Linked DNA regions of Homo sapiens: all the other regions are linked to region 1. Evidence: promoter capture Hi-C in 16 types of primary human blood cells and fetal thymus (Javierre and others, 2016). All regions are on one chromosome and are shown on one strand. The core of a region is centred on a gene start or on the middle of the fragment in contact, and the rest is flanking DNA. Distances in the headings are between cores, read along the strand shown.

What was found. Contacts are between HindIII fragments. The CHiCAGO score rates a contact against its expected background, and 5 or more counts as called.
Region 2: a contact is called between a fragment that was not itself captured here and the fragment with the promoter of SNHG5 in region 1, in 3 of 17 cell types (non-activated CD4 T cells, naive CD4 T cells and naive CD8 T cells). The highest score is 7.5, in non-activated CD4 T cells.
Region 3: a contact is called between the fragment with the promoter of MDN1 here and the fragment with the promoter of SNHG5 in region 1, in 1 of 17 cell types (monocytes). The highest score is 8.5, in monocytes.
Region 4: a contact is called between a fragment that was not itself captured here and the fragment with the promoter of SNHG5 in region 1, in 3 of 17 cell types (naive CD8 T cells, neutrophils and non-activated CD4 T cells). The highest score is 8.4, in naive CD8 T cells.
Region 5: a contact is called between a fragment that was not itself captured here and the fragment with the promoter of SNHG5 in region 1, in 1 of 17 cell types (neutrophils). The highest score is 5.4, in neutrophils.
Region 6: a contact is called between a fragment that was not itself captured here and the fragment with the promoter of SNHG5 in region 1, in 1 of 17 cell types (neutrophils). The highest score is 5.4, in neutrophils.
Region 7: a fragment that was not itself captured here is called in contact with the fragment with the promoter of SNHG5 in region 1 in 1 of 17 cell types (neutrophils); the score reaches 5.4 in neutrophils.

What each region holds. Positions count from the first base shown.
Region 1 is chr6:85,677,286-85,680,192 of GRCh38, reverse strand. SNHG5 (small nucleolar RNA host gene 5) reads left to right here and starts at 1,460. Exons shown (of 6, transcript NR_003038.2): 1 at 1,460-1,499; 2 at 2,005-2,057; 3 at 2,161-2,239; 4 at 2,318-2,398; 5 at 2,701-2,769. It overlaps SNORD50B (small nucleolar RNA, C/D box 50B), which reads left to right and starts at 2,534; the gene lies at 2,534-2,604. SNORD50A (small nucleolar RNA, C/D box 50A) reads left to right here and starts at 2,825; the gene lies at 2,825-2,899. RefSeq lists enhancers at 1,490-1,649, 1,820-1,879. The HindIII fragment of the contact is 13,479 bases long and covers 1-1,617 here.
Region 2 is chr6:90,588,850-90,591,756 of GRCh38, reverse strand. LOC124901363 (a long non-coding RNA gene) reads right to left here. Exons shown (of 2, transcript XR_007059680.1): 2 at 798-1,109. Among named protein-coding and RNA genes, the nearest start is that of MAP3K7, 3.2 kb to the right of the region's middle. The HindIII fragment of the contact is 5,597 bases long and covers 1-2,907 here.
Region 3 is chr6:89,818,326-89,821,232 of GRCh38, reverse strand. It overlaps MDN1 (midasin AAA ATPase 1), which reads left to right and starts at 1,439. Exons shown (of 102, transcript NM_014611.3): 1 at 1,439-1,727. The coding sequence starts at 1,626. RefSeq lists enhancers at 502-1,121, 1,122-1,741, 1,396-1,785, 2,362-2,907. The HindIII fragment of the contact is 1,090 bases long and covers 697-1,786 here.
Region 4 is chr6:89,638,823-89,641,729 of GRCh38, reverse strand. All of the region lies in intron 1 of MDN1-AS1 (MDN1 antisense RNA 1), which reads right to left. Among named protein-coding and RNA genes, the nearest start is that of LYRM2, 1.5 kb to the right of the region's middle. The HindIII fragment of the contact is 1,794 bases long and covers 544-2,337 here.
Region 5 is chr6:81,743,008-81,745,914 of GRCh38, reverse strand. It overlaps TENT5A (terminal nucleotidyltransferase 5A), which reads left to right. Exons shown (of 3, transcript NM_017633.3): 3 at 1-185. Among named protein-coding and RNA genes, the nearest start is that of TENT5A, 8.2 kb to the left of the region's middle. The HindIII fragment of the contact is 3,387 bases long and covers 1-2,907 here.
Region 6 is chr6:89,422,303-89,425,209 of GRCh38, reverse strand. It overlaps the pseudogene NACAP7. Among named protein-coding and RNA genes, the nearest start is that of ANKRD6, 9.4 kb to the left of the region's middle. The HindIII fragment of the contact is 5,077 bases long and covers 1-2,907 here.
Region 7 is chr6:89,364,720-89,367,626 of GRCh38, reverse strand. It overlaps RRAGD (Ras related GTP binding D), which reads left to right. Exons shown (of 7, transcript NM_021244.5): 7 at 1-2,907. Among named protein-coding and RNA genes, the nearest start is that of UBE2J1, 13 kb to the right of the region's middle. The HindIII fragment of the contact is 2,876 bases long and covers 1-2,805 here.

The DNA of each region.
Region 1 (2,907 bases), core at 211-2,710:
CTCTAATTACAGACATAAGCCACCACACCCGGCCTACTTTGCTTCTTATATCCTTTTGTACTGTATTGTTTGTTTTACTATTTACTATGAGCAATATGCAAATTTATGTAAGACATTACAAAGTAATACAAAAACCGACAAAATGCCCGGCCCAGTCAATACTTCATCATATAGGTTCCTGTTAGAGAAAAGTGCTTTTCACTACTATCTTTGAATGTGAAGTTTGATCTTCATTCTAATTTTCTAAAAAGCCACCGAATGTATTTGTTCATTCATTCATTCATTTAACCATTACCGACAACCTACTTAATGCTAGGCACTGTTCTAAGAAAAAATAAACAGCAGAGCACGAAATCAGATGTGTTGCTCCCACACTCTAGCAGAATCGGACCGTAATCAAATGCACACATAAACAACTTTAATAAGTAGTGCTTTGAAATATAGAAGTGAAGAACGACCTGAATTTTCAAATACTGAAATGTTCAAATGTCGTGTGCACACACACACACGCAGACATATTCACTCGAACATGCTAATTAATCAAAGCACTGCTTTTGAATTTTGTGTTTGTCGTCTGGATAAAGTATTCAGGGATACTTCTCAAATTAATCTTTCTCTCGTTTTCAATATAACTAATTGAGTACAAAGAAGTTAAAAATTAGCAAAGCATTTCAGCTGTGTGACCTTAGGCAAATTACCTGGCTGTTTTAAGCCTCAGTTTTCTCCTCTGCGAAATGGAGTATTGAACCTCACGTTCGCTGTTTGAGGGAGACTTGTATGGTCACGTTTAGTGTAACCGGATGCCTGGCACGAGGAAGCGTGAGGAGGAATGGATCCCCATGGGGCCTTGATGCCCGCCCTGAGGCCCTGCAGGGCCGCACGCCGGGGCTGTTCTCACGTGGCGCTTTCCGCTTTTTCACCCAAGCGTTTCTGCCAGCCAACTGCCCTTTCCCGGAGTGCTGCGGCCAGGGCTCGCCCGCTCCTCCGGCGGCCTCCGCTGGGGGCCCACTACAGCCCAGCGCCAGCCAGCCAGCCAGCCCAGCTTCTCGAATCGGTCCTAAGCTGAGGCCGCCCTGCGCTGCAAAACTTGTGTCCACTCTCGGACCCAATCTGTCCTGGACGGACTTGGCTCGTGGCAGGCGAAAGCGTCGTTTCCAACTGCAGCTGTTTGAATTCTGGCGCCACACCCGCGCCACGTAGGGCCAAGTCGGCCGCCAGACTCGTAAGAGACGCTTCGCAGTGCGCCTGCGGGCGCGCGCCGGGAAATGGCCGGGCGCGCGGCCGGCCTGCGGCGCGCTCCACAACGCGGAACGGGCCTCAGAAGAGCCACCGCGCGCGCTCCCGCTAATTCGCGACCACACCCCTGTCTACTTCCATGTCCAATAGGTGCGAGAGGGCGGGACGGCCTCGTTCTGACTCCGGGAGGCTATATAAGGAGCTACTGGCTGCGCACTTCGGTCTTTTACGTCGGCCTTCGCGAGCGTCTGGGCGGGTGGTAGGTGAGTGGGTATTGCGGGCTAGTATCCGAGCAAAAGATGGTGGCGCAGGCCGAGTTAAGAGCTTTAATCCTGTGAAGACATCTTAGTGAAGAGTTTAGAGTGCTGAGAGTTGAAAGCTTGCACGTGGGAAACGTGCGGCCGGACTGCCACATGTACTGAGGTTGAGTCGTGACGGCCACAGGCTCCGAGTTTTGGCGTGAGGAACCGCTGATCGGCCACGGGCGCCGAACTTGCTGGCCTCCGGCATGTGCCTGAGCGGCGGCGGAAAAACCACCTTAATTGGGGCGGAGGGTTAGTTTTAACAGCAAAGGGCCTTTACTAAAATGGCGAAGGCCTTCCGTCGGCGTTGTTTTAAAATGGGAAGCCTCGACCCTGTATTGAAACTGAGCTGTTCGAAGGCGGCGTTGTGTGCAATTCGGATTAATGAAGGGGAAGGGTTTTGTGTGGAAAAACGCCTTGGAGTGTGACATTTCTGCGAGAATGCTTAAATACCGATTTCCCGCAGGAACAATGGCGCTGTCTTCAGTGGCACAGTGGAGCAGCTCTGAAGATGCAAAGGTAAGAGCTTAGTTAAGCTTAGTTTCCAAACTAAAGGAGTAAACCTGTTGATTTACAGGAATAGGAACTGTTGCATCGTTTGAAATTTACTTTTTTTTGTTAGATACACGAAAAAACTTCCAGAACATCTGGGAGAATATTTAATGGAAAATCGCTTGGTTAAAACCTGACACTTTTAACAGGTATGTGTTGTTTTAGTACTTTATGATTGAGCATAGCATTTAATCCACACCTAGACTAAATCAAATTTTTTTTGTCAGTGAACAGCGTTCTGAGTGTGGACGAGTAGCCAGTGAAGATAATGAATGTCGAATGTGACTGACTAGCAGCTTCATTTTGAAGTAGGTTGTATGGCTTAAAAGTTCTGTAGTATTTGTACTATAATACTTGCCTTTTAGCATTACCTTGGTTTGTAGTCAGTGTCACAGAAGTGCAGTTTAATGTATTATGTGTACATATACAAGGTCTGATTGGTCTAATCAATGATGAAACCTATCCCGAAGCTGATAACCTGAAGAAAAATAAGTACGGATTCGGCTTCTGAGATTAAGACCAGTAATTCAGAGGTGGAGTAAATTTTGTTGCCGTGATTTTATAACAGTTGTGTTATAAAATCCTGGGTTTTTTTTTTTTCTGCCAACAGTGAGGGTCGCTGTCTGCCCATTGATAGAGGCCAGATTGTCTTGGAAGTTCCAAAGTTGCAACGATTTCTGTAAGTGGAGTTTTTCTGTTTGCTTAGAGATCAGTGAATATTGTGTCCTTGGTCTTATCTGTGATGATCTTATCCCGAACCTGAACTTCTGTTGAAAAAAAAAAACTTTTACGGATCTGGCTTCTGAGATGGACCGTT
Region 2 (2,907 bases), core at 206-2,705, 4.9 Mb before region 1:
CAGAGCTCAATCTGAATAAACATATGAATAATGAGCATTTGCTGGTTGCATACCCACCACCCATCAACCATTGCCTGCTTTGCTGTTCCTAAGAGTATTAAGATTTTCCTTCGGGTTAGCATCTCCTCCTCCTCCTTAGAGCCCATGTTTCCAGGAGCCCTCAATCTAAGTTAAACAACGTACAGTCATGCATTGCTTAACTACAGGGATAAGTTTTGAGAAGTGTGTTGATCGGCAATTCCACCATTATGTGAACATCATAGAGTGTACTTATACAAACATTATATACTTATATCATTACAAGATGACATAGCCTACTATACACCTAGGCTATATGGTATACCTAGGTATATAACAGCTATACCTGTTCCTAGGCTACAAGCTGTATAAACCATGTTACTATACTGAATACTGCAGGCAAATGTAACACAATGGTATTTGTGTATCTAAACATAGAAAAGGTACAGTAACGAAACAATATAAAAGATTTAAAAAAATGGTACACCTATATAGGGCACTCACCATAAATGGAGTTTGCAAGACTGGAAGTTACTCTGGGTGAGCCAGTGAGTGACTGGTGAGTGAATGCGAAGGCCTAGAACATTACTGTACACTACTGTAGACTTTATAAACACTGTACTCTTGGGTTACACTAAATTTATTTTTTAAAAGTTTTCTTCAACAATAAATTAACCTTAGCTTATTATAACTCTTTTACTTCATAAACTTTTAAATTTTTTAAAACTTTTTGACTCTTTTGTAATAACACTTAGCTTTAAAACACAAACACACTGAACAGCTGTACAAAAGTATTTTATTTGGATCCTTATTCTATACACTTTTTTCTGTTTATTTATTTTTTTATAGTTTTTAAACGTTTTGGCTAAAAAGTAAGACAAACATATGTTGGCCTAGGTCTACCTACACAGGGTCAGGATCATCAACATCACTATCTTCCACCTCCACATCTTGTCCCACCAGAAAGTCTTCAGGGGCAATAACACGCACGGAGCAGTCATCTCTTATGATAACAATGCCTTCTTCTGGAATACCTCCTGAAGGACCTGCCTGAGGCTGTTTTATAGTTTTTTTATGGAAGTAGGAGTACACTGTAAAATAACAATTAAAAAGTATAGTATAGTAATTATATAAACCAGTAACATAGTTGTTTATCATTATCAATATTATGCACTGCACATAATTGTATTATACTTTTGTATGACTAGCAGCATAAGTTTGTTTACACCAGTATCACCACAAACACGAGTAATGCACTATAAGTAATGTGTCATGCTATGACATTACTATGGCTACAATGTCACTAGCCAATAGGATTTTTTCAGCTTCATTATAATCATATAGGACCACTGTCACATATGAGGTCCATTGACCAAAAAATCGTTATGCAGCGCATGACTGTGTGTATCCTCAAGCATCCTGTTCCCCATCCCTCAAGGGTAAACTTACCAAGGGCTTTTGAAAAAGAATGTTTAACTGCTCTTCTGAGATGGCTACCAAGAGATGCTCTCGGTTGTACTTTGTGATGTGTCATGTGAAAAATGAAACTGCTAGTACATGCATTCTCAATGGAGGCAATAACACCTCCACAGGGGGCAAAAACTGGAGAGAGAAAAAATCTTACTCTTTTTACATAGAAAGCACAAATATACATACAATACATAAATAGATATACAGTGTATCTGAGGTATTAAAACTTTGAGGAGGGGCATTAAGATGTCTAAAAAGGCTCCTTAAAAGAACAATAATGAAAAAAAAGATTGAAAAACACTATTGTAGAATATAGCAAATACCACAAAAGGCAGAAGAGAATAATGGAAACTCAATTATTGATGTTATCATCAAGCCTATGATGGAAATATGGAACACTTGTCTGACATATATATGACCCAGAACATTAAAGTGGTGTTACTTTAGTCCCAGTTTCTGCTAAGCCTCCATTAAAATAGGTCCCAGATATCCCTACACCCAAAATGAGCCAAATAAGATCAGAATCTCATTTAGAACAAGCAAAGAGGTGGTGGGAAATGGATTTTGAAACCCTTGTCCTCTCAACCCCTGGAGAGTATAAAAGGGCCAAAATTGAAGACAGAGTTGGAAGTTAGAGAGTAGTTATTAGGGTGCTGACATGAGGGAGAATGGTGGAGGGTGCTCAAACTCGGAGGGACTTCAAGGAATTTACTTAAATAGTTTTGATATGTATCCGGAAACGTGTGGAGACACACAGACTGGTGACTGAAGTTGACATGAAATTCTGAGGTCAAGTTTCTATCCTTAATTCATGAAAGTTAAAGGAAATGCAAAGTCAAAATTGAAGTGAACTGAGAGAGGTTCAGCTCCCCTCCATCATTCCTCTGCATTTAAACTTTATTACTTAGGATTATTTGGTTACAAGTGACAAAAATACAACTTGGACCAGCTTAAATGAAATGGTAATTTACTAGCTCACATAACCAAATCACAGAATGTAAGAGATGGATTGGACCTTGGGAATGACTGAACCCAGAGACATAAACACTGATGAAACTTTCCATCTATTACTAGAAGCTAGGGAAAAGGCGCAGGCAGACAAAAAAGAAAAAAGTAATCTGCAAGCAAGTTGGACAAAAATTGATTTTAGACTGGCATCAATATTAGAAGTCCAAATCAGTGGATAAAACATAGAAGTGTTGGGGTAGAAGATATTCAAAATCATGTAATCAATTCACTTTGAAATGCATCTAGCAAAATGGTAGATGGATGTAAATATGGATGGAGAGATGAGATGCACATATGTATATTATGATAAAGCAAGTATAGTAAAATGTTAAAGGTAGAATCCTGGTGGTGGGCATATAGGTGTTCACCATAAATTCTTTCAACTTTTCTCTATATTTGACATTTTTGTAA
Region 3 (2,907 bases), core at 190-2,689, 4.1 Mb before region 1:
TGCTGGGATTACAGGCGTGAGCCAAGGCACCCAGCCCTAATTTTTGTATTTTTAGTAGAGACAGGGTTTCACCATGTTGGCCAGACTGGTCTCCAACTCCTTATCTCGTGATCTGCCTGCCTTGCCTTGAGCCACTGCGCCCAGCCCACAAGTGCACTTTTAATGTTATGGACTCTACTATTTTTTATGACTTCCAGAATATGCTATAACTTACACCCCATAGTTTAATATTCCCAATTGAACATTTTCTTCCAATATCTGTATTAAGAAAACTGCAAGGGGTGTCTTTGTCACACTTAGTGAGGATTTCCGCAGGCTAGAGTCCTACAAGGGGAATTGCTGGGGCAGAATGTTAACTAGTTAGGTATGAGCAGAACAGGAGAGCGCTCCCCACCCCACACATACCAGGACTATTGGGTGACAATCAAACGATGGTCAGGCGGTTCTTAACTGTTTCTCTAACGTTCACCGGGGCCAGCGAAAGGCAGTCTCCTAATAGAAAACACCTGAAACTGATCAGTAGCTTCCCAGTAAGATCTCAGGAGTGGGGAGAAGCAATGCAAGTTCCCCAAAGTATGCCAACATATAAAACTTCAAGTCAACAGGTCAAGCTGCGCACTTGGTTTCTCAAGTCGCCTGCTTGGCAGTCTTCCAAGTTGTACTTTCCTCCTTTTCTTTCCGTCCCGTTCTAAAGCTTTTTGATAAACTTTTACTTCTATTCTGAAACTTGTCTAGGTCTATCCTGCCTTATGCCCTTCGTGGAATTATTTCTTCTGAGGAGGCAAGAACTAAGGTTACTGCTGACCCCTACCTATACAGGGGGTAACTGCCACCGCTAACAAGAAGGGGAGAATCAGCTTTTCTTTCTTTTTTTGAGACAGTAAAAGTCTGCTGTGTCGCGCGGCTGGAGTGCAGCTGCACGATCTCGGCTTACTGTAACCTCCGTCTCCCGGGTTCAAGCGATTCTCCTGCCTCAGCCTCCCGAGTAGCTGGGACTACAGGCGCGCGCCACCACGCCCGGCTAATTTTTGTATTTTTAGTAGAGAAGGGGGTTTCACCATGTTGCCCAGGCTGGTCTCGAACTGCTAACCTCAAGTGATCTGCCCTCCTCGGCCTCCCAAAATGCTGGGATAAAGACATGCGCCACCGCGCCCGGCCGAGAATCAGCTTTTCTCTCACATCTGATCTTTCCGTGTGTTAAGGCAGAAGCAAGGCACGGTGGGCTGAGACTCACACGCCCCCTCTTTCCTCCCCGGCCTAACGCACTCTTCTTTCTGTCCCACCACGTGCTGTGTTCGCGAGTCCCCATCACTCCTGCATCCAAACCGACTAGATTTTTGTTTCCATTTCCCTCCCGGAAAAGGCGGGACAGCGAAGACTGGCGTTTCCGCCGCTGAGGGGCTGAGGCCGGGAGGGCGCAGCGTAGCCGTCCCGAGCTGATGACGTCAAACGCCGTGTGCTCACCCACGTGTGGTGCCCCTCTCCCGGTGTAGGCGCTGGAGCTGAGGACGCCTTTCCTGCGGGCGTAGTTGCTGGCTGCTCGGGCACTGGGACCTCGGCGGCTTGGGGACGCTGGCCGCGAAGTAGGGAGCGCAGGTGGCCGCTCGGGGTGAGGGCCCTGGGTCATGGAGCACTTCTTGCTGGAGGTGGCAGCCGCGCCGCTGCGGTTAATCGCAGCCAAGAACGAGAAGAGCCGCAGTGAGTTGGGCAGGTTCTTGGCCAAGCAGGTAAGACGTGAAGGGAGAGGGAAAGCGCCGGAACGACTGGGTCGCCCCACTAGTAAGCTTCCTGCGCTCCCCCGCCGATACTCGCCGCTTTAAGTGGGGAGTGGTGCAGCCTCAGGTCAAGCTGGCCCCCTCCTGTGGGCTGGCGCAGGTCGTGGAGGTTTCCGAGCGTGTTTGAGGCGATTGGAAGGAGTCTTTTGTTTTTATCTGGGGGAGCCTTCCAGTACCCTTCCCATCGCCTCTCACCCCTATGCAAGCGCTTTGGCTGCTTGTGGCAGAGGTGGCCTTCCCAAAGGAATGTGGTTTGTTTTTCTGAAATTGAGGTTGCGTTTCTGCCGTTTTGACAAGTGTACGTATCACCTAAGTGTGCGTAGTGCAGCCACTCCTGTTAGTTTGGGGAACCATCGACAAATACTGATTGCATTCCTGCTGTGCGTAAGGAACGGTGTGGCGCTGTGAGAAAGTGGATAGATAAATTCGTTACGATCTCTGCCATGAGGGAAATTTGCATCTGTTTTTGGAGACAGTTCGTAAACACTTACAACAGCTGAAGTACAGAGCAAGACAGCTCATACTCACTGTAACTAACTATACAAATTATAAGGTTAATTAGAGTTTTCTGGGAAATAGGTCTTCGGGCTTTTAAGAACCTTCTCATTGACTCCTTCTATCTGAGTTGAAGACACTTTTTTTTTTTTTTTGAGACGGAGTCTCGCTGTGTCGCCAGGCTGGAGTGCAGTGGCGCGATCTCGGCTTACTGCACCCTCCGCCTCCCGGGTTCAGGCGATTCTCCTGCCTCACCCTCTCAGTAGCTGGGATTACAGGCGAGCGCCACCATGCCTAGCTACTTTTTGTATTTTTAGTAGAGACGGGGTTTCACCATGTTGGCCAGGATGGTCTCGATCTCTTGACCTCGTGATCCACCCGCCTCAGCCTCCCAAAGTGCTGGGATTACAGGCGTGAGCCACGGGACAGGTGAGTGTGGTCCCAGGTACTTGGGTCCCAGGTGTGGCTAATTAAAAAAAAAATTTTTTTTTTGTAGTTGTAAGGTCCCCCTTTGTTGCCCCGACTGGTCTGGAACCCCTGGGCTCAAGTGATCATCCCGCCTTGGCCTCCCAAAGTGCAGGGATTGTAGGAGTGAGCCACCGTGTCCGGCCTAAATTTTTTTTTTTTTTTTTTTTTT
Region 4 (2,907 bases), core at 191-2,690, 4.0 Mb before region 1:
AATCTCACTTTGGATAACTTCTTCACCACTCCCGTGGCCTCCACCATCACTGAAGCAAAAGGACTGTAAAATTCTCCATCCAGGGGTCCAGGAAATCTACTCTTTGGTATTCTTAATTATATTCAGACATCTGCTGGATGTCACTGTGTTCTAATTCCCCTATTCCAAACCCATTCCTTCAACATTCCCCATCTGGGATGACCACTCCAACAGCCACCCTGTTTACAAACTTGGGACTTAACCTATACATCTGCTTTACTTCCTTCTCCATCTCTATCCATACCCCAATCAAATTAATTAATCATCTTGTCCAGTCAGGCTTCTGGATATCCTGTCCCATCCCTCCCCCTCCCCCTACTGCACTGTGACTGGGACTCTTTTAATCTCTAGCAGGGACTACTTCAATGGTATCCTGGCCAGGCCAGTAACTTCTCTTTGCTTGCTTCACTTCATCCTATTCACAACATCCAAGATCTTTCTAAAAGTTCTGTAGCTGAAAATCCCTTCAAAGCTCTCCCTTGTGAAGAGGGTAATATTCAAGCTTCTTCATGTGACCTGTGAGGCTCTTGCTTGACTCTCCTGTCCCTCCTCTCCCAGCATTCCTGCCAGTGTTTCCATGTGTTGTCTGGAATCCTCTTAGTGATTCTGCGTTTCTGACAAATACCTAGCTCAGACAAGCCCTCCAGGAAGAATAATTTCCCACAGTATGAACTGCAGCATTCTTTGTTAGCACTATATTGAACTTAGAGGTTTTCCTGCCCAAAGCATGAGTCTTTGAGCAAGGAGCATATGTGACTCACGACAGCATTACCAGTGTCTAGCAAGAGTGAGCCCTTTTTTTTTTTTTTTTTTTTTTTTAAATAGAGCTTTGCTCTTGTTGCCCAGGCTGGAGTGCAATGGCGCAATCTCGGCTCACTGCAACCTCCGTCTCCCAGGTTCAAGCGATTCTCCTGCCTGAGCCTCCCAAGTAGCTGGGACCACAGGCGTGCGCCACCAGGCCCGGCTAATTTTTTGTATTTTAGTAGAGACGAGGTTTCACCATGTTGGCCAGGCTGGTCTCGAACTCCTGACCTCAGGTGATCCACCTCGGTATCCCAAAGTGTTGGGATTATAGGCATGAGCCACCGCACCTGGCCTGAGTGTTTCTTGATGGGAAGAAGAAATAATGTAAAAATGTCTTTCTCACATATTAATGTATAGATTCAACACTACTTCAAAATTCCAACCAAGATCACAAGATGATTTGGAGGGAAATGATACAAAACATTTCTAAAGATTATAGAGAACAGTACTAATGGATTTTTTACAAGAAACTAGAGTCCTGCCAGATAATAAAAACATATAAAACAAAAAGTAAAAACTTAACCCTAAATGAAACAATTCTGGACAGATTACTCAGACCCTAAAAGAATTTATCATACAGTCAAAAAGGCATCCATCATAAAGCCCCGAAAAAGGAATGAGTTATGTAATCAATGGTATTGATACAGCTTAACATCTAGAAAAGAACTTAGATCCACGTGATGCTGTAAACCAAAGTAAATTCTAGATGGAGTAAATATTTTAAAAATTAAAGTTTTTAAAAAACGAATTACAAAGGCCTGAATGGGAAATGAAAAGCCTCAAAAGGCACAAAAATACATGATTGTATAAAGTTTCTGTATGTATAAAGAAATGACAAAAAATATAGAGCCCATATAAATGTCCTCATCATAAACGGACCCAAGTCATGAACAATTCACAAAAACAGTATAACTAAAAATGGCGAGGGGTATTTAACTTCACTCCTTTTAAAAAGTTAGCAATTAACTATTACAGCTAATGTATTAGACAAAATTTGGCATATATTATTGATAATATGATCATGCAGTTAGCATCATTCATACAATGCCTGGTAAAGTTCAAAAGAGCTAATGATTAGAGTTCTTACATGTGCCAGGACCTGTTCTCAGTACATTAGAGATACACAACTGAGGTAGATGCTATATTTCACTTTACAGGGGAGGTAATAGGCCAGGAGAGGGGAAATAGCCAGAACACAGCTAGGAATAGGGAGCCCCAGGATGCTAACAGGCGAGGCAAGCAAGTCCCCAGTAAACTAGTAATTGAACATTTTTCGTTCTATTTTAATTCGATACAACACCACTTGGAAAATTAATATGGCAAAGATTCGCTAACTCCACTTCTAGTGATTTAACCCAAAGGCATGTGTATTGTGGGAAAGATAAAACAACTATAAGGAAATAAAAGCAAAAGCCTGAGGCTTAGGGATGTTAGGCTCCTCGTTATTAGTGATGAAAAGTGCTTAAGACTGAAGTGGGTGAGCCATTCAAAGCTTTGTTTCAAATGATCATGAAGGCCACCGCTCCCGGAAAACCTTTGCGCTACAAAAGAACAGGACAAAAACGAGAAAGAGAAAAAACCAACACAAACTGTAAAAGAAATTAACACTTTCAATTTTAGTATTTTCAACTATACACATTTTTAAAGGCTCGAAAGAACATTTAAATACGTTTTCACCTCTTTCCCCCAAAAAAACCTTAACTTTTTTTTCGAGACAGGGTCTCGCTCTGTCGCCCAGGATGGAGTGCAGTGGTGCGATCTCGGATCACTGCAACCTTCACTTCTCGGGTTCAAGCGATTCTCCTGCCTCAGCATCCCGAGGAGCTGGGATTACAGGCACCTTACAGGCCTCCCAGAGTGCTTGGGACTGCAGGTGAGAGCCACCGCGCCCGGCCTCCTTCACTTTCATTTGAACTCTCTTTACCAGGAACTGTGTTAAGTGCCCTACCTTTCTTCTTTATCAAAACGACCCTATGGTGCACTGTTATCCTATTTTACCGACGAGAAAACTTCGGCCAGCGCAGCAGCTAGGGCTCAGTCCCGAAGCCTCGCGCTCTCAGTCCG
Region 5 (2,907 bases), core at 109-2,608, 3.9 Mb after region 1:
TTGGGTCACTCTTTTGGAATATTTTGACTATAGGCTGCGTCACAGGCAGAAAAGGAGTTGATGGAAAATGGACTAAAAAACTGACATGTTTGAATCAGTGCTAGAGGGAACAGATTGTGAATTTTGTTTACAGCATCCAATATTTGGATTTTTTTGTAAATAAAAAAGTTATTTTTTTCTATTGATTTGTGTTTGCTGTCTACAATGTCTGTATTGACTAAAGACCATGTCCTTTGAATCCCAACCCACGTCCTTTAGAAAAGGCAGAGCGGTACATAGAGAAGAGTAGCCTTCAGCCACTTTCTGATTGAAGCACAATAAATGAAAACATCCAGCTGTCAGTCAGCCCATCTCTGACTGGCTCAGTTAGCTCCAAAAGCATCTAGCTAATAGATGCCAACAATTTTTTTGTCTGGGTATCAATTTAGCAGTGTTAAGTGACCAGAAGTCAGAACTGTTTTCCGATATCAGTAGAGACTCATGGCTCTAGTAGGCTGTAGGGCTCTAGTAGCTCTGCGTGAGCCTTGGTCTTCCTGAGTAGCCTTAGGGCTGTGATTTCATCAGTGGTTATATAGATTCTGTTCGAGGCTCTATAGTGTTATTCAGAGTTTTTACGTTGGGGTGAGAGGAATTGGTGGCCAGGAATTGAAAGAGGAAGTATAGAGAAGGAAGAGCAATCAAAAGATCTAGTATGTTCTGTGTGTGTGTGTGTGTGTGTGTGTGTGTGTGTGTGTGTTGGGTGCAAGGAAATCACCCTTTTGTCTAGCATTTAATGTAACCTCACCTATTCAAATTGCTAGGGGGCATACATTTATGTATTAATTAAAATTTTTCTTAGTGTAATTTTGGAGATGGTCTCAATGCTAGTAGTATGAGAATTTGGTAAGCCCAGGCTACTATAGGATATACATGTGGTTGTAAAAACCACTTAAAGTCTTGATCTTGAATAGAATGCATGCTTGACACCGAGTCTGTGAAAGAGCAACTCTTGGCATTGAAAACCAGCTTCCTTCCCGTATACAGTGCATCATAAAAATACAAGGTGGTTATTTGGTTTGATAATGGTATTTGTGTGTCATTTTCTTCTTCCTTTGTTGCAGCCTCTTCATTCTACAGCCAGTTCCTCATATGTCTGTGGTCACCACATAATTATTTTTAAACAATGGTTGAATAAGAGCAGTATATATTAAACTTCTCCTAGGCTTAGATATACCCTGCCATTTCTAGTTGAATTACTAGGCTGCCCCTCCTAGCTGAGCCTGGAGAGAAGTAATCCACCCTTCCTTTCCTTAGTAACCTCATTCCCTAAACTTCTAATTCCTTTAGTAAGAAAAAGAAAGAACAAAATATACCAAAAAAGAAAAATAAATTAATATCATAGTTTTTAAATATAAAGTAGAATAAGGTTTGTTAAAATCAAGTAATTCCAAAATTAAACTCTAATTTTCTTTAAAGGACCAAGTTTGAGATCAACAATATGAACACAGTATCCTTCAGTCTAATAGCAAATACATCACGTAGGACCGAGGGAGGAGAAATGATTTTAAAATGACAGTGGCTTTTACCTAGCATGACTCAGATCTTGGTTTCTAATGCCATTCTCCAATAAAAGGAACTAGAAGTTGAATCTATGTCTGGAGCAGGAAATATATAAGAGAAGCCTGAAGCATCTTGTGGTGCCTTGAGAAAGCATAAAAAAAAGATAAAAATCATAATGATGAGGGTGGCAGGGGTATGTCAAAGGGACATAGGAGCTAACTGAAAGAGCTCCAATAGCCAAAGCTGGAACAATTTAAGCAACAAAATAAATAGTAATGGATTATAACACAACGAGTAAAGTATCCATGCATTCACACTGATATAAATAAATGATTGAATGAACAAATGGAGGGAAAGAAATTTACTGTGCAGGATTCCAAATAATCAATGTAGATATTGGCCCTTCAAGGAGGTGGAGGTTAACTACCCACCTCTTAAGTGTAGGCTGTGCATAGTGACTTATGTCCAAAGATTACAATCTGGAAAAGGGAAAAAGAAGAGTACTGTACCATTGCAAAAACCGAACAAACACTACCTCAGCCAGCTGATCAAGGCCAACATAAGTAGTGACAAGTCATGATGATAGTATGTGCCCTTGTTGTGATGTGATAAGAATGGCACTTCACCTCTGTGGTTTTTTCCTCAACACTCTAAAACCTGCCAAATCTTGAGAACAGCATCATCCAAAACTAAATTGTGGGGCATTCTGTAAAATACTGGACCAGTATTCCTTAAATTATTAAAACAAAGAAAGTGTGAAAACTGCCATTGCCAAGAGGAGCCTAAAGAGACATATGACTTAAGTGTAATGTGGGATCCTGGTGGGGTCTGGCAACAGAAAAGAGCACTTGGTAAAATCTAAGGAAATCTGAAGCAAGCATTATTGAAATAATAATGGTTCAATATCAGCTCATTAGTTGTAACATGTAGTATGATGTCGACAAAAGGAGAAACTGGGTATGGGGTATATAGGAACTTTCTATATCATCACTTTTTAAAAATAAAAGTATTCTCACATAAAAAGTTTATTTAAAAATGAAGACTGGCCGGGCATGGTGGCTCATGCCTGTAATCCCAGCACTTTGGGAGGCTGAGGCGGGAGGATCACGAGGTCAAGAGATCGGGACCATCCTGGCCAACATGGTGAAACCTCGTCTCTACTAAAAATGCAAAAATTAGCTGGATGTGGTGGTGCATGCCCATAGTCCCGCTACTTGGGAGGCTGAGGCAGGAGAATCGCTTGAACCCGGGAAGTGGAGGTTGCAGTGAGCCAAGATTGTACCACTGCTCTCCAGCCTGGCAACAGAGCGAGACTCCATCTCAAAAAAAAAAAAAAAAATGAAGACTGAATAATTCAGAATAACTCTT
Region 6 (2,907 bases), core at 131-2,630, 3.7 Mb before region 1:
ATTCAGTCTTCAACACATATTTATCGGGACTTGACCACCATCAAGCTATTTATGTATATATATATATATGCTGCACATAAAGTACAATGTAAGTGGTATACAGTACAATTATATTTCGTCCAGATTATAGCTACTGTGCTAGGCACTGAGAATAGAATGGTGGACAAAAGAAGATGGTCCCACAGTCTAGTTGTGAATACAGTCCTCAATCAAATCTTAAATTACAATTGAGACAAATGCTCTAGAGGACTAGTACCTAGTGATATGTAGTGCACAATTAGGGGATTAGGCCAGGAGTGAACCACTGGCTCAAACTCAGCCAATCAGATTTTCTTGCCTGGGAATTAAAGATAATAATAGCTAACACTTATATAGTGCTTACTGTCTGATATGGTTTGGCTCTGTGTCCCCACCCAAATCTCATTTTGAATTGTACTCCCATAATTCCCACGTGTTGTGGGAGGGGCCCAGTGGGAGATAATTGAATCATGGGGGTGGTTTCCCCATACTGTTCTTGTGTTAGTGAATAAGTCTCATAAGATCTGATGGTTTTATCAAGGGTTTCTGCTTTTGCGTCTTCCTCATTCTCTCCTTGCCTGCTGCCATCCATGTAAGACAGGACTTGCTCCTCCTTGCCTTCCACCATGATTGTGAGGCTTCTCCAGCCACGTGGAACTGTAAGCCCAATTAAACCTCCTTCTTTTGTAAAATTGCCCAGTCTCAGGTATGTCTTTATCAGCAGCACGAAAACAGAGTAATACATGGTCCTAAATTATTTTATATAGTTTAATGGATTTAATTCCTTCCCACAACCCTACTGAGGTATGTTACATTATCAGTAGTTTAGAGATGAGTAAATTGAGGCACAGAGAGGTTAAGTAACTTGCTACAGGTCACACAGATACTAAGGATGGAGTTAGGATTTAAACCTAGGAAGCCTGATTCCAGAGGATGGGCCCACTATCACTGGGACCAGGAGGGTGGGGCAGCTGTCTCCTGCCCTCTGGTAGGAAAAGCACAGAAAGCCAATTTTCATGCAGAGAGAGAAGAATAAAGGGAGAAGTGCAGAGAGAAGTAAAAGCAAGGTCCCCCCTCCAGCGTTTTTTGAGACAGGGTCTTACTCTCTGTCACCTACACTAGAGCGCAGTGGTGCCGTTGTAGCTTACTGCAGCCACAAACTCCTGGGCTCAAGTGATTCTTCCGCCTCTGCCTCCCAAGTAGCTGGGATTACAGGCACATGCCACCGTGTCTAGGTAATTTTATTTTTTATTTTTGGTAGAGATAGAGTCTTGTTTTGTTGCTCAGGCTGGTCTTGAACTCCTGACTTCAAGTGATCCTCTTGCCTTGGCCTCACAAAGTGCTGGGATTATAGGGATGAGCCACCGCACCCAGCCATGGTCCCTTTCTTGAGGAGTCTCAATTGTCTCCTGTAATATCCAGAGACACCTTTACCAGGATCCTTTGAATATGATATGACTCCTGAATTTCATCACCAAGTATATGATCAAGTTCATCCATCCTTTCTTCTCTCCACTCATAAAGGATATATATTGTGTCAGTTGCTGCAAAGTTTAGAGCACCCCATCCACATGGCTTAAGCTGAACTTCCCAACTGGTTCGCCACCACCACTTGGGTGCCATAAATGGCTTACAGGTATGGCCAAGTTTTTGATCCCCTCAGCCTTTAGGGCAGCTAGGCAAGGCCTGAGGGTGACTAAAGTCTTCAGGCCAGTCACCTCTGGCTGTAAGTAGCCTGTCCATTTACACAGAATTGTACCATACAAATAGTATCTTTCTTTTTTCTTTTCTTGTAAGAGATGGGGTCTTGTTCTGTTGCTCAGGCTGGAATGCAGTGGTGCGATCATAGCTCACTGTGGCCTCGAACTCTTGGGCTCAAGAAATCCTCCTGCCTCAGCCAATTTTTAAATTTCTTTGTAGAGATGGGAGTTTTGCTATATTGCCCAGGTTGGTCTTAAACTCCTGTTCAAGCAATCCTCCCACCTCAGTCTTCCAAAGAGCTGGAATTATAGGAGTGAGCCACCGCTTAGGTCCAAATAGTATCATTTTCTATGTGTGCCATTACCATAGAAGGTGGGGAAGCACTAGCTTAAGGAATAGACTTATAATTTTCTCCTGAAATAAGAAGTGTGGGCTCTTTCTGCTGCCATCTTTATATTCCCTGCACAGGTCTGGCACTGAATCTTGCAGTGAAGAATCAGTACCAGAACTCAAGGAACAAAATTCCACAGAATAAGCCCAGGTGGCAGCAGCAGCCGCATTTGATGAAGAACCAGTCAAGAAAGCAAAACACAGTCAGAGTGAAGGGTAGGCACATAGCCAGGCACGGTGGCTCACAGCTGTAATCCCAGCACTTTGGGAGGCCGAGGCAGATAGATCACTTGAGGTCAGGAGTTCGAGACCAGCCTGGGCAACATGGTGAAACCCCATCTCTAGTCTAAGTACTAGTCTAGTATTTGTACTAAAAATACAAAAGTTAGCCAAGTATGGTGGCACGTTCCTGTAATCCCAGATACTCAGGAGGCTGAGGCAGGAGAATCACTTGAACTCAGGAGGCAGAGGTTGCAGTGAGCTGAGATTGCACCACTGCACTCCAGCCTGGGCGACAGAGTGAAACTCCGTCTCAAAAGACAGAAAGAAAGAAAAGAAAAGAAGGCACAGAAGGCTATGGCTATGTCCAAACTGGGTCTGTGAAAGGCTATGAGGGTTACTAGAGTCGCTATCCCGAAATCTAAGAATATCCTCTTTGTCATCACAAAACCAGATGTCTACAAGAGCCTAGCTTCAAACACCTACATAGTTTGGCTTGGGGAGGGGGGAGCGGGGAACTAAGATCAAAGATTTATCTCAACAAGCACAGCTAAGAGCTGCTGAGAAGTTCAAAGTTCA
Region 7 (2,907 bases), core at 118-2,617, 3.7 Mb before region 1:
AAAAGTGATGCATTGGTAATGACTTTTTGTAAATTTGGAAATCTTTGCTACCAATTGTTGAGAAAAATCATTTTTCAGTGGAGCTGGAACAGATTGGAGCTACAAGCTCCAGGAGCAATAAGAACTGTCCCCTATTTATAATGGGTGTAAACAGTTTTGTAGAATAATGCTAGCACCAGACTTACCTAAAAATTTCTATAGCAGTGGCTGTGCTTCCCTGCTCAACGGTTTTTATGAAGCTGTTTACCTCAACACACATCTCTATAATCACTTTATACAGAGAGGTTATTTCTTTTTGTTGCATTAGTATTCTTTTGAAACTTTGGGACCAGATTTCCAAAATGGTGCCGAACACTGGAGAGAAGTAAGAATGTCACTGAATTGTAGGGTTTCTGGAGGCTTTTCTGTACCTACCACCCAGGGCTAAAGTAACATCAGAGGCCTAAAGTTGTTCCAAAAGTATGTGATTGGCAACTGCAGACTAAAAAACATAGATACAATTCTGGACTTTTGGCCCTGTGCGATGGTCTGGTGTGCTGCATTTAAAATGCTTATTCAGGACCAGTTCTTTATTGCTCCATGACCATAGTGAATAGAACAAATCGCAGAACCCCACCATGGAGCTCAATCCTGTTAGTCACTTTTGTCACCTCCACATCTCCTTCTCACTGGTGATAACATGCCTCATGTACTCCACTTGTTCCCACCTTATGATTAAGCCAAGCTCAGCCTGCCACCAGCATGCTCTGCAAGGCTGAAGAGTCATCCTGAAGACCCCTAAAGGTCAGTGGGAAAAGGATGGCTGGAGAGACATTACAATTAGCTGTGTAATTGTTTCTGTGAAATTATTTCACTTATGTTTACTTTAGACTAACAGGAAATTAAGAGTCCTAAATCTACCCCTATGCCAAATCATTCCAAGTAGATAATTTTACGTGCATCTCAAGGGTTAGCACCCTAAGGCATGCTTGTGGGGCATTAGAAAATGAGATTTTTTTTTTTTTAAAGCAGAGCCTCCTAAGAACATCAAAGTTGGTCCTAGCAAAATATATAAAGTCCCTAAAGCAACTTATACTTGAAACTTTTTTTTTTTTTTTTTTTAGAGGGGGGCCTCATTCTGTTGCTTGTGCTGGAATACATTGGTACAATCATAGCTCACTGTTACCTCTTGGGCTCAAGGGATCCTTCCACCTCAGCCTCCCTAGTAGCTAGAACTACAGGTGTGCACAACCACGCCCGGCTAATTCTTAAATTTTGTTTTTGTAGAGACAGGATCTCACTGTGTTGCCCAAGATGGTCTCAAACTCCTGGCCCCAAGCAATCCTCCTGCCTTGGCCTCCTCAAATGCTGAGATTACAGGCCTGAGCTACTGTGCCCAGCCTAAACTTTCCCACTTCTCTCTGTGGCTTCTTTCCAACCTCTCTCCTTCCTCTCCCCAAGTCCTGTTTCTTTGAAGCTGGTAACTGAATTTAAGATGATATCTGGTTGGTGTTTAAGGTTTGAGCCTCCCAAGGTTCTGTGCATTTTGAAAGGAGATTTCTAAAAATAATTAAGGTGCCCTAACTCCTTTCCTCATGATTCCTACTCCGAAACCTGGATGGTTAGGAGCCCAGGGCTCCCTGATTTCCAGAGCTATATCCTGTTGGACCTTTGCCAACAGACCTGACACTTAGGGGTTATTGTTATAAATCTAATTCTCTAATATTTTTTACATGTTGTTTCACTTTGAATAAGCAAATGAAGAATCAGTTTTCTAATATGACTTTATCCTCAAGCTAGAGACACTAGCCTATTTGGTAAATCACACATTACTTAGGTATATTTATTACTATAACCAGGTTGGAGCTTCCATGTTTAAGCTGGGTATATGATGGGTTTTTGTTAAAATGTGCCTTAAAAAGCCTATTACTTCAAGAGCAAATGATTCTTTGGGGGAAAGGCAAAAATAATTCTATGACATAGGGCCCAAGTTCATGGTAGTAAGTGTACTCTTTGATTAATCACACGCTAATATAGATTACTGCCTCTAACTTTGTAAGTGTGGCAATGACTTCTTAATTAAAGAAAGATGCAGGAGTTATGTCTAAGCGTTCAGTTTTTCAAATCTGTGTTATTGGAAATGTCTTCAAGTCATTTTGCATTGTATTTTTGATATGAGAGGCAGCTTATTGCGATGTGTATGGCCATGTTTCATTCTCAAATTTAATTCTATAAATACAAATCCTAAATACATGGCTACAGCAACTGCACTGGAACATTTTTGCTTGGTTTTAGGGATTGAGAACTTGCCTTGCAGGTTTCCTTCCTCAAAAGGAGCAGGGCAGTCCTTTCCCTGTTGAGTCAATTAGAATTTTTACATAGAGGTGAGACTGTGAATTATTTTGGTTATTTTCAGTGATGTAGATTAGTGTGAATGACCAGGGTGGAATGTTTTTGAAGGAATATAAAGCAAAAACTGGTTGACATTCACAAACTGTTCTTTTGTGAACATATTTTGGACCCTTAAATATGACTAAAATCACAGCAATATTGTTACATACGGGTTATATGCCAACTCTGTTTGAAATATACTCTGGAAAAACAGCTGAATTGTCTTGGTTATTAAAGTATGGTATGTATTCAACTTGTACAGACTGGATGTAATTTGTAATCAGGTATAGTCCATGTTTTACTTTAAGCAGTACATCACTTAATAACCATTGTTAAGCCATTGCTTTCAAGAATGTTAACTGCCAATTTAAAAGCATGTGTCCTAGGTTCATGCTTTGGTAAAGCTCTCATTTCAAGTGTATTCATAGCTAAGCTTTCTGGGAGCAGAATTGTCTCTTTGGTGAAAAGGAAGTACAGCCTTTCCTGTTTCTGAGGTTGCTTACCATACATGTATGTCACTGTTTCATTGGCCCTGTT